Linked DNA regions of Homo sapiens: region 2 is linked to region 1. The links are contacts of gene promoters, found by promoter capture Hi-C in blood cells and fetal thymus (Javierre and others, 2016). All regions are on one chromosome and are shown on one strand. The core of a region is centred on a gene start or on the middle of the fragment in contact, and the rest is flanking DNA. Distances in the headings are between cores, read along the strand shown.

Region 1 (6,361 bases), core at 2,873-5,372:
CCTAGATTCACCAATTGTTAAAATTCCATCACTGCTGTTTAATTCTTTTTATCTTTCTCTGCTAACACAGACACATATTTTTGCTGAACCTTCTGAGAGTACTTGCTGACATTCTGACACTTAAACCTCGAATACCTAAGTATTATCTATAAACAAGGATGGTTCTCTACATAACCCCAGTACGATGATCACATTCAGGAAATTAAACATTAAGGCAATGCTATTATGAAATATAGGCTATACTCAAATTTCCCCCAGTTTCTCAGTAATCTGCTTTGTATTATTTTTTTCAATCAATAATAACACATTAAATTCTGTCATCATGTCTCTATTTTCTCCTTTAATCTAGAATGGTTTTCCAGGCTTTTCCCTTTTTAATCTTTTGTGATGTTAACATTTTTGAAGAATCTAGGCCAGTTATTTTGCAGAATATGGATTTGTCTGATTATTTCTTCATGCTTAGATTCAGTTAAAACAATTTTGGCAATAACTACACAAAGTTGTTGTGTCCTTCTCAGTGTATTGTATCTGGAGGTACCCTATGTCAGAACACTCCATCACAGTAATCTTCAGTTGGGATCACTTGGTTAAAGCAGTATCTGCTAGATTTATCAATTATCTTTTCCCTATTGTAATTATCAAGTAATCTGTGGGGTGGTATATGTGAATATATCTTTTCTCACCAAGATTCTTTTACCCAGCATTTTTTTTACAACCATTTGAATTTTCTTGCTATGACAGAATTAGTTTCATAAGAGCATAATTAAGGAATCTGGTAAGACGTCTTTGAAAGTTCTAATTACAACCCTCATCTCTTCTTATGTTAAACTGTCTTCATTCATTTACCTACCTATTTAACAAATGTTTAAAGAATGCTCGTTTTGTGGCTTGGCCTGTGACATTTTCATCAGTGGCTTCATAGTTGCCTAAACTAATGTCTCTTCCTGTGCTCCAGAATCCTATTGGCAACTATTTTCCATGGATGCCATAAACTCAACATACTCAGATGAAAGCTGTCATTTCACTTTCTCACCTGCTCTTCCTGTTATTTATTCCAGTAAATTGCACCTCTGTCTTCTCATTGACCCTATAATAAGAAAGGCCTATTTATTGAGTGGCTATCTGTTACAATAGGCCTTTTATACATGTTACATGCATTATCTCATTTAATCTTTTCAATAATCTTGAGAATTAGATGCCATTATCTGGAGGACATTGGGCTTTGAGCCCCAGGTCAACAGTAAGCAAGTCCCCATGCTAGGATACAAATCCAGTTATCTTGGGCTTCAAAATCTTTGCTTTAGCATAGTGATAAAGGTATCACTGGCTTCAAATCCTGGCTCTGCCACTTCCTACGGGTGATTGGGTAAGTCACCTTAACTTTCAATGCCTTGATTTCCTTCTTTATAAAATGGGAAAAATGGTAACTCTTGTCTTGTAGGGTTGTTATGGACTTGAAAGAAACAAAACTTGCTGGGCGCGGTGGCTCACGCCTGTAATCCCAGCGCTTTGGGAGGCCGAGGCGGGTAGATCACCTGAGGTCAGGAATTTGAGACTAGCCTGGTCAACATGGCGAAACCCCATCTCTACTAAAATAATACAAAAAATTAGCTGGGCGTGGTGGTGGGTGCCTGCAATCCCAGCTACTTGGGAGGCTGAGGCAGGAGAATCACTTGAACCCAGGAGGCAGAGGTTGCAGTGAGCCGAGATCGCGCCACTGCACTCCAACCTGGGAAACAAGAGTGAAACTCTGTCTCAAAAAAATAAAAAAGAAAAGAAAGAAAACTTGACATTTGAATAATTTCTGCAGCACCACAGTACTTCTCAAACCATAATTCTGGTGTCATTCATTCTAAACTTCTCCTTCCACTCACTGATTGTGGACTAGTCCCATAGGGACCTCGTCTTCACAGCTGTCATTACCTTAGTTTAGACCAGGGGTTGGCAAACCATGGCCCACAGGCCAAATCCAGACTTCACCTATTTTCGTAAATGAAGTTTTATTGGAATGCACACACACCCATTTGTTTACATATAATATATGGCTTCTTTCATTCTAAAATGACAGAGTTGAGTAGTGGCAACAGAGACCCCACCGTTTGCAAATCATAACATATTTACTATTTTGCCCCCTTCAGAAAGCTTTCCAAATCCTGGTGCCTGGCGTATTCCAATAGTCTTCTTCCCAGTCTTCCTGGTTACATTTCTCCCTGAACCCATCCTCCCCATCCCTAAAATTTCCCCCAAATGTGAACTCAGTCATACCAGTTTGCTCCTTATGTTTCATTGGCCCTTGCTGCTAAGAGCATCCGCTTGCACCTTCTGCTCATCCCCAGACAAGCTTTGTCCTGTGACCATAATGAACTCTTCATGCCGTTTCCAACTTTAGCCCATGTTATTCTTCTTGTCTGAATATCCACCCTTTTCTCTGTTCTCAATAATAAGTTCAGGCTTTTCGTCTTCTGAGAAGCCCTTTCTGACTTCCACAGGCTGAACCACTGGCTTCTGCTCCTCTACATAATACTTCAATTCCAGCATTGATCTCACTCTATCATGATCATGGGTTTAGCTGTCTGTCCCTGCCACTGCTGTGTGTTCCTCTTGAGGGCAGGAACATTTGTTTTTCACTTTTTAAAAAACCTCTGTTGCCCAGTCTGGCATTAGGAAGTGCCCATTAGGTTGTTATTGCTTGTTGGCGCTTGAGCTGGGGCTTGAAGGTTTCTATAATGTGTAGCAGTGTATAGAAAACAGGCAGGTCAGAAAAGGCTTCTGTGCATCACACCAACATGGCACATGTATACATATGTAACAAATCTGCATGTTGTGCACATGTACCCTAAAACTTAAAGTATAATAATAATAAAATTTTAAAAAAAAAAAGAAGAGGCTTCCTGGAGGAGATGACAGCTGAGCTAAGTCCTGGAGGATGAGAAGGAGTATAAAATAAGATAATAGGAGAAAAAAGGCAGTAGGAACAGCATGGGTAAAGGTGATGAGGCCTGAAAGAGGCACGTGGAAGGAAAGACAAATGCAGGAAGGGGGAATGGGAGGGAATGCTGGGGTACAGGCCAAAGAGGGAGGCATTTGGTGAGTATTCTGCAGAGTCTCCTCTGCTGTGCTGAGGTGTGGACAATGGGAAACCATGGACGGACTGGAGTAGGCAAATGTCATATTCCCTGTTACAACTGTCTGTTTGCATGTCAGCCTTCTAGAAGCCCCTTAAGGTATCAACTATGTTTTTGTTTTGTCATCATTCAATCCTAAGTGCACAGAATTCCGGGCATATTACAGGTTCCCCATGAATGTTTCTTTCTTTATTAAAATGTATGAAAACTCTCCAGATTTAAGGAAGGTCCTCAATGTTTCAAATTCTTTTTGTTAGATCATTGGTCCTGTCTACAGCTGTCACAAATTTAAGGACTCTGGTTATATTTAATCTTCACTTTTGAATTTTCTGCTTGAAAAATTTGTATTAGAAAAAAAAGTCTATCCTTTTATGGACGGCTCTAATCTCTTGAATCATTTGGGTTGGCTTTTCTTTGGACCTTCTTCAACTCTGTTTTGTCTCTGTTGAGTTAAGGCTTTTAAGAACACCTGAATTCTTTCCTTCTGCAAAACCAGAGGCAGCTTCTTTTCCGCCTATTTTCAGTTTATTTCTTGTGATTTTAGTTTTTTTCTCTTAACCAAATGCTAAATGGATTTAGGAGAAATAAACTTATTTGTAAAGCTGTCAAGGGACCATTAGAAGGATGGTGCTTCACAGATAGAATACAGTTTTTATTAATGATGCCTAGACAAATCCTGCCATTAGCCCAAGGGCTCAGAAAGTTAGCAGCCTAGTAGTTTTGGAGTTGTCAATGAAATGAATTGGACTGGATGGTTAAGGATGCCCAGAAGATTGAATAAAATTGGGATTTAGGAGGACCCTTGTACTCCAGGAAATTCTCCAAGTCTCCACTTAGTTATCCAGATCCTCAAAGTGAACATGAAGCTTCAGTTTCAAATTGAATACATTTTCCATCCATGGATTGGCTTGTTTTGTTCAGTTGAGTGCTTGAGGTTGTCTTTTCGACGTAACAGCTAAACCCACGGCTTCCTTTCTCGTAAAACCAAAACAAAAAGGCTTTCTATTCAAGTGCCTTCTGTGTGTGCACATGTGTAATACATATCTGGGATCAAAGCTATCTATATAAAGTCCTTGATTCTGTGTGGGTTCAAACACATTTCAAAGCTTCAGGATCCTGAAAGGTTTTGCTCTACTTCCTGAAGACCTGAACACCGCTCCCATAAAGCCATGGCTTGCCTTGGATTTCAGCGGCACAAGGCTCAGCTGAACCTGGCTACCAGGACCTGGCCCTGCACTCTCCTGTTTTTTCTTCTCTTCATCCCTGTCTTCTGCAAAGGTGAGTGAGACTTTTGGAGCATGAAGATGGAGGAGGTGTTTCTCCTACCTGGGTTTCATTTGTTTCAGCAGTCAAAGGCAGTGATTTATAGCAAAGCCAGAAGTTAAAGGTAAAACTCCAATCTGGCTTGGCTGGCTCTGTATTCCAGGGCCAGCAGGGAGCAGTTGGGCGGCAGCAAATAAGGCAAAGAGATAGCTCAGAACAGAGCGCCAGGTATTTAGTAGGGGCTTCATGAATGCATGTGAGTTGGTTTAGTAGAGAGACACAGGCAATTTCAGACCCTTCTATGAGACTGGAAGTGATTTAAGAGGGAAAGGATAGCCATAGTCCTGAATACATTTGAGCTGGGTTTCAGGATGAGCTCACAAGTTCCTTTAAAAAAAATTGACTTAAGCAAATCCTGGGAAGAGTTTTTTTGCTATACAATTCAAGGTTTTAAGGTCCTCGGATTCATATACTTTATAAATGAATTAGCCAGCTTGTTTAAAATGTAGGGAAATTGTGGGAAGAATGCCTTCTTTACTTAATTCAAGGTTTTAAGGTTCTCTTAATCAATTCTACTAGCTAATTAGCCAATTATTTAAAAATAAAAGTTTGAAATTGCCAAAAAAAAAAGACAAGGAAAAGGAAAGAAAGAAAGCCACCAGTCTGTTTGGCATACAATACTTAATTGTTGCCTGACCTACGTGTGGGTTTCAGATGCAGATCCTCAGTTTTCAGCTCTTCAGAGACTGACACCAGGTTTGTTACACGGCTTAAAATGATGAGTATATCCATTGAATCTCAACCTTATCTCTCTCTAGACCTTCTTGGTTAAGAAACCATGTAGTTTGTATGAAGTAGGTACTCAAAAGATATTTGATGATTTAATTTTTACTGGAGAAGAAATATTCATATATGTTTTCTTATTTTTACATGTTTTAAATATGTAAAGATTAAATAAACACTCTTAGAAGTATTTAAATTTCCTAAAGTAAATTTATCTCAACCAGTAACAGGACCCTCCCAATACTGGAAAGTTGAGTGTGACCGCATTTAGTGGTGATGAGTGTGAGCTTGCTTGGGGAGAGGGCAGGACATTTAGGATTTCTTAAGCTTAGAGTCAATACAATAAAGATTATTGAGTGCTCACTTGGGTGGGCTATAATCACTGCTCACAGGAGTTCATGAACCACAAGTAAAAGAGTGAGGAGATATGATTAGCTCACAAATAACTTTAATACAGAGCAGAAAGTAATGAACTACTGCAATGGAGTTATCACAGTGCTAAGGATGCTCAGAGGGCATCTCTGATAGGCAGAGGTGAGGGTTAGGGAAGGAAGCTGTAGTCTAGCTAGCTAGAGCTGCTGGAATAGACATGACAATGGCTGCTGCCAAACTGTTTTCTCTTCTGAGGACAGATGTCCCGTGCAAGTGGCTTGGTGGAAGGGACTAGTGTCTCTAATATAGGGTGATTTATAAGCAGGAAAGTGTGTCCTAGAAATTCAGACCAGAGTGATAGATTGGAATTGGATCATGGGGGACTCATTGAATGTTATTTATTGTATTTGTTTTTGCGATCAGTGTTAGTAAAGTGTCAAAGGGATTGAGCAGATGAGTGACATCATGCAACACAAGTTTTGAGTTTCACTTGTCAGACTGACTGGAGAGGGGCCTGGTTAGTTACAGGAAGGTAATTTGGCATGCAGCCACTATTTTTGAGTTGATGCAAGCCTCTCTGTATGGAGAGCTGGTCTCCTTTATCCTGTGGGAAAAGAGAACAAAGGAGCATGGGAGTGTTCAAGGGAAGGAGAAATAAAGGGCAGAGAGGCAGCGGTGGTGTCAGGGGAAGCCCACAGGAGTTAACAGCAGGGTTGCCTCAACCTAGAGAGGAAGCGACCTGGTGCCCTCGGCTCTGTGGCTTCCTTCATCTAACAACATCTTCCACTCTACAACAATGCCAGGGAAGGCGGAGGCTG
Region 2 (6,361 bases), core at 1,456-3,955, 2.0 Mb after region 1:
TGGCTAAGGTGCTGTGGGCTGAACAGAGTTCTCCCTGGGCACAGGGAGCAACTCTTGATTGTCTCTGTGGCTCAGGTGCCTGTCTCCTGCTAAGTCTGAGTCCTCCAAGGACAGGGACTTATCCATCTTTATAGCCCACAAACCCAGAGTAGTGCCAGGTACATAGTGAGTGCCTCTCTGTTGAATGAAATGCAGCCTCACTTTTTTTTCTATTAGAGTTAAAATACACATAACATTGACCATCTTAACCACTTTAAAGTGTACAATTCAGTAGCATTGAATATATTCACAGTGTTATGCAATGTCATAGTTTTTATTCTTTTTTTTTTTTTGAGATGGAGTCTTGCTCTGTTGCCCAGGCTGGAGTACAATGGCGCAATCTCGGCTCACTGCAACCTCCACCTCCTGGGTTCAAGTGATTCTCCTGCTTCAGCCTCCTGAGTAGCTGGGACTATAGGCATGCACCACCACGCCCATCTAATTTTTTGTATTTTTAGTAGAGACAGGATTTTACTGTGTTAGCCAGGATGGTCTCAATCTCCTGACCTCGTGATCTGCCCACCTTGGCCTCCCAAAATGCTGGGATTACAGGCTTGAGCCACTGCACCTGGCCTTTTTTTTTTTTTTTAAAGGTGCAATGCTTCATTCCTGTAATCCCAGCTCTTTGGGAGGCCAAGGCGGGGGGATTGTTTGAGCCCAGAAGTTTGACACCCATCTGGGCAACACAGTGGGACCCAGTCTCTACAAAAAATAAAAAATTAGCAGGGCAGGGTGGCACATACCTGTATTCTCAGCTACTCAGGAGGCTGATGTGGGAGGATTGCTTGAGCCCAGGAGGTCAAGGCTGCAGTGAGCTGTGGTTGCACCACTGCACTCCACCCTGGGCAACAGGACGAGACCCTGTCTCAAAAAAAAAAAAAAAAAAAAAAAGACTCCTCAATAAAATTACTCTAAATAGATTAACAGTTTTTTCTAAGAAATGAAAAAATAAAAGATAAAATATGGAGCGTGATTTCAAGGCAATCTAGACAACAAGGTGTGAATACTGTTCTCCACTAAATGCAACTGTTATCACTTCTTAGCTCTTCTGTGGTCGTCTCCTAGTGCTCAAAACGTAGTCATCAAGCAGATGTGTTGAGCACTCTGTTAGATGCTGGGAATAAACAGATGAACAGACATGGCCAGTGTCTGTGAGGTGCTTAAAGACCAGAGAAGAGACAGATGCTTATTTCTAATTCCCCACACTATACTGCGAAACTCGTCAGGGTAGGTGTTTTTGTCTTTTTTTTAATTCCCTGCTCTATCCCCAGTATATTGAACAGTGCCTGGCATGCTATAGGCATTTTAAAAATACTCGATGAATGAATAAATAATGAAAATCTGGCTGGGGAAGTAGGAGAAAGCTTCACCAAAGGCCTTAGTTGGGTTTGTTCTTGAAAGTATCATTTCTTGAAGAAAGAGTTACAGACATCCTCACAGGAGAAGAAGGTCTTCTTGGAAGCCTGGGTACAGAGCAGGTGGCATGACCGGATGCTGGAAGAGTAGGACATGGAAAGACAGATCAAATCACAAAGGACTTTGTATGCCACCTTGAGGAATCTAGAGTTTTGCTTACATCTTGTTAAGTGAAGAATTTTAAGCAAAATGTTTGTGCTATGCTCTGAATGTTTGTGTTCACCCAAAATTCATACATTGAAACCTAATCACCAAGGTAATGGTATTAGAAGGTGAAGCCTTTGGGAGGTGATTAGGTCATGAGGAGTCTGCCCTAATGAATGGGATTAGTGCCCTTATGAAAGAAGCCCCAGAGAGTTGCCTTCCTCTTTCACCACGTGAGCATAAAGCAAGAAGGTGCCATCTACGAGGAACAGGCTCTCACCAGACACCAAAAAAACTGCTGAATGCCTTGATTGTAGACTTCCCAGCCTCCAGAACTGTGAGCAATAAATTCCATTGTTTATAAATTACCTAGTCTAAGGTATGTTGTTATAGTAGCCCAAATGACTAAGGCAGTTTGCATTTTGGAAAAGTCACAGAATTGTATTCTAGATAAGCAGCACTTATCAAACCACACACATCCCCACCACTTTCCAGGCATCAGAAGCCATTAATCATGTCATATCTGCAGCTAATACTTTGTTTCCATGCATACTGCATCATTCCTGCTGAGAAAATTTCCCAGACTTCCCACTCAAATCCCTCTTCCCTGGAATATCTTCCTTTCATGGCAAAGAAAAAGAAAATGAGGAGAGATGCCTATGAATCCACTCACCGGCCTTTCTGTCTGATATCATTTTGCTGTGTCCCCACCCAAATCTCATCTTGAATTGTAGCTCCCATAATTCCCATGTGTTATGGGAGGGACCCAGTTGGAGATAATTGAATTGTGGGGGTGGTTTCCTCCATACTGTTCTCGTGGTAGTGAATAAGTCTCACGAGATCTGATAGTTTTATAAGGGGAAACCCCTTTTGTTTGGTTCTGATTTCCTCTCTTGACTGCTGCCATGTAAGACGTGCCTTTCACCTTCCATCATGATTGTGATGTCTTCCCAGGCACGTGGAACTGTGAGTCCATTAAGCCTCTTTTTCTTTTTAAATTACCCAGTCTCGGGTATGTCTTCATCAGCAGCGTGAAAACAGACTAATACACCCTCCCATGGGATTACTCTTTTAGCTGCTTCTAAGCATTCCGCATCAGTTCCTGGTTTGGATTCTCCTGGAAGCAGACTCTGAGACAAGGACCTGAGAGTCAATAGGTTATTGGGAAAGATCCTGGAAAGGCAAGAGAATGAGAAGGGAAAGTGAAATCCAGAAGGGAGAAGCAAACAATGAAGGGTGAGTTGGTAAGCTGGTGAGGAGGCTGCCACGATGGGAGACTCTGGCCTGGCCCCACTAAAGAACTGTAGAGTACACCTCAGAACTTTCCCCAGGAGGGCCAAGGAAGCTGCAATACTTATCCACCAATTCCTAACCCTCACAGGCTGGGGACCACCTCTGGGGGAATTATATTCTAGGCGTCTCTGGTCTGCCCTGTGCTCTGGCTGACAGATCCCTCAGGTATAGAAGCAGAGAGATGAGGGCGTCTGTGGTAGGCAGCTGTGAGCATGCACAAGAGTGGCCTTTGCAGCTGCAAGTGAACTCAGAGGTGGGCCAAAGGGAAAAGGGCAGGGCTTCAGCAGCATCTTCTACACCATCTGCCCTACCAGAGCTTGTTTCCCCTCTAGAAGATGGTTGCAGAGACAATGCTGTGTGTCCACCATCTTGTCTCAGGCACACAGAAAGATGACATGTCCCAGGCTCCCCTGTCATTTAAGCCATCTCATTCACAGCTAAATTAGAAACAGGGTGCTACTTCTGCCCAGTAGAATATGAACAGAAGTTACTAAAGTCATTTTCAGGCCTGACCCTTAAAAACAACCCAGGCGAGGGCCAGGCGCAGTGGCTCACACCTGTAATCCCAGCACTTTGGGAGGCCGAGGTGGGCGGATCACGAGATCAGGAGATCGAGACCATCCTGGCTAACATGGTGAAACCCTGTCTATACTAAAAATACAAAAAATTAGCTAGGCATGGTGGCGGGCACCTATAGTCCCAGCTACTCAGGAGGCTAAGGCAGGAGAATGGCGTGAACCCTGGAGGTGGAGCTTGCAGTGAGCCAAGATCACGCCACTGCACTCCAGCCTGGGTGACAGAGCAAGACTCCGTCTCAAAAAAAACAAAAACAAAAAACAACCCATGCAAGGATGTGACGGTGGTCTGGCTGCAACATCTGTCACCCCACTGATCACCAGGGTTGATTCGGCTGATCTGGCTGGCTAGGTGGGTATGCCCTCCTGAGCCTCACCACTCCATGTTCATCCCTCCTGAAGCTGCATGCTTGGTTGAAGAAGACAACCTTCCCCAGTAGAAGGCCAATATTTGGTCAAGGGTATATAAGTAGCTGCATTCCCTTGCTAGAACCTCCAAACAAGCTCTCAAGGTCCATTTGCAGGAAAATGTTGGGTAGTGAAGCTTCCAAGGCTCCAGACACATCCAAATGAGGTGCTGCATGTGGCAGTATGTTTTTTGTTTTTTGTTTGTTTGTTTGTTTGTTTGTTTTGAGACAGAGTCTTGCTCTGTCACCCAGGCCGGAGTACAGTGGCACGATCTCGACTCACTGCAACCTCCGCCTCCCAGGTTCAAGCGATTCTCCTGCCTCAGCCTCCCAAGTAGCTGGGATTATAGGCACCCGCTGCCATACCTGGCTAATTTTTTGTATTTTAGTAGAGACGGAGTTTCACCGTGTTGCCCAGGCTGGTCTCAAACTCCTGAGCTCAGGCAATTCACCCACCTTGGCCTCCCAAATTGCTAGGATTGCAGGCATAAGCCACCACACCCAGCCACTTTTCTTAAAAACACACACACAAACAAACAAAACTATGTGATCCTCCAGTTCTTTCTCTTCAGTGACCAACTTGAAGTCCATATGTTTAAGATGGTAGGAATGTAAGATTGAAGGAGCTTTGATCCCTGAGTCACTGAGTGAAGGAGTCCACCAAGGAAAGCCACTCAAATTATGCCAGACTGTAACATGAATGAGAAATAGGCAGTATGCAGCCCCTAAGATTTGGAGATTTGTTACTGCAGAAAAGCCTAGCCCATCCTGACTAACACAGAATATATATTGGCTCTGCTGAGAATCTCTGCATGTTTTGGCAGTATGTTTCTTTTCCCTTTTCCTCTTCATAACTTGAAAAGAATCTTTAATGCAATTTCAGGGCTAAAACAGTGTGCTTCCGCTTCAAGAAACAAATATGCTTAGCTGAGTGATGTTCTTGCAGTTGGCAATGAACCCGTGATGCCCAGCCAGTATAATAGTCTTGACAGCATCTCTCAAGGCCCGCCTGCCTGCTTTAAGACCCAGTCTTGGCGACAGGGTTTAGCTGCCCACCCTTCCATTTAACACATCTAGAGAAACTACCAATTACTGCTAAACTGCCTTGTGTGGCTCAGCCCTCAGGTCAGAGGATGACATCCGGGAGGGCCATTTCAATGATTATGTAATTAATATTATCATGATATATAACTGCAGTAATGGTTTTTATCAATAGAGACCTGTTCTTCCTAGGCTATTCTTCAAAGTCAGGCTGTTGCCTGTTCTACCTTTGTGACATTCAGGAGCATCCTCTGGCCACGTGGTTCGGAGGTTTTATTGTACATCTTTAAGTGCTCTCTCTGAAACCCATGGGTCCTGGAAGTTTTGAACTAGGTTTTGTGGCTCTGCGTCACCTTCACAGTCTTAAAACGCACCCGTTTACACAAATGCCTGCTCACAAGCCACAGAGTGATGGCCGCTGACTCCTCCCAAAGTCAACACTTAGATTTATTGACTGAGAAGGATGTAACTGACCGAAACTTCACCCAGCTCAATATTTGCCTAGAGACAATAAATCTCAACACCGACCCAAACTGAAAGTCGATGGATATGTATTGTTACAGACTTTCTTTTGGCAAGACTAATCCATTGGGTATGGATTTTGAAATAATTTCATTTTGATTGGAGTGTGGGGCTAGCTGGACAGTGCAGTCAGAAAACAAAGTGGGGGACGCGTGATAGGAGCAGTTGCTCCTTGTAATCCCATAGTTAAATTCAGTGCTGTGAGCAGCACTTAGAAAAAAGAGCATGTCATCTATCAGGCCTCCAGAAGGGCCGCCTTCTGTGAGATGATGTCATCATAATGGCAGAGTGTGTTAAGTCCTCTGTGAATCCCCACAGGGCATTTGTCCTGCATGAGAATCAATTACAGAAAAGATAAATGGTGCATGAGAAGTGTCTTTTGGCATATATTTCACTTCTGATACATGTTGTTCTGCTGAGCAACAAACAATTTAGATAAACCTCAAGGTCATGTTTGGACCAGAGAGATGTTTTTCATTAGCTAGAGAGTGACCATGCTGATAAGAGAAGCAGCAGTTTGTGGAAAACTGTAAAACACCCGCCCTTCCGGGCAGCCGAAGCAGCCTACCTGGATCAGGCTGAGAGCCCTGGACATCACAGAAAGCCATGTTAGCATTGGAAAAGCGAGAGTGACGTCTTTGCCCACCATCTCCCAACGAAAGCCCTTCTGAGTGCGCGGAATGATTATTTCTGTGAACTGTAGTTATACTTCAGGCATGGACTCTGGAGAATACATTTTACTGGCTCAACTTTTTGTGAATCACAAATCCAGCTGAGTTGTGATTTTTTCTTCCTTTTGAGTCTAGGTCTGTGTTAGCAGTTGATTGGCTATCTTGCCCACATTCCCTTGTTTTTCCTTACATTTTTTTTTTTTTTTCTGAGACAGAATCTCACTCTGTCACCCAGGCTGGAGTGCAGTGGAGC

The links. The method cuts DNA at HindIII sites, captures the fragments that hold promoters and counts their contacts. A CHiCAGO score of 5 or more calls a contact.
Region 2: a contact is called between a fragment that was not itself captured here and the fragment with the promoter of CTLA4 in region 1, in 1 of 17 cell types (M0 macrophages). The highest score is 6.0, in M0 macrophages.

What each region holds. Positions count from the first base shown.
Region 1 is chr2:203,863,649-203,870,009 of GRCh38, forward strand. It overlaps CTLA4 (cytotoxic T-lymphocyte associated protein 4), which reads left to right and starts at 4,123. Exons shown (of 4, transcript NM_005214.5): 1 at 4,123-4,403. The coding sequence starts at 4,295. The HindIII fragment of the contact is 240 bases long and covers 3,990-4,229 here.
Region 2 is chr2:205,896,889-205,903,249 of GRCh38, forward strand. It overlaps the pseudogene RN7SKP178. Among named protein-coding and RNA genes, the nearest start is that of INO80D-AS1, 180 kb to the right of the region's middle. The HindIII fragment of the contact is 2,608 bases long and covers 1,402-4,009 here.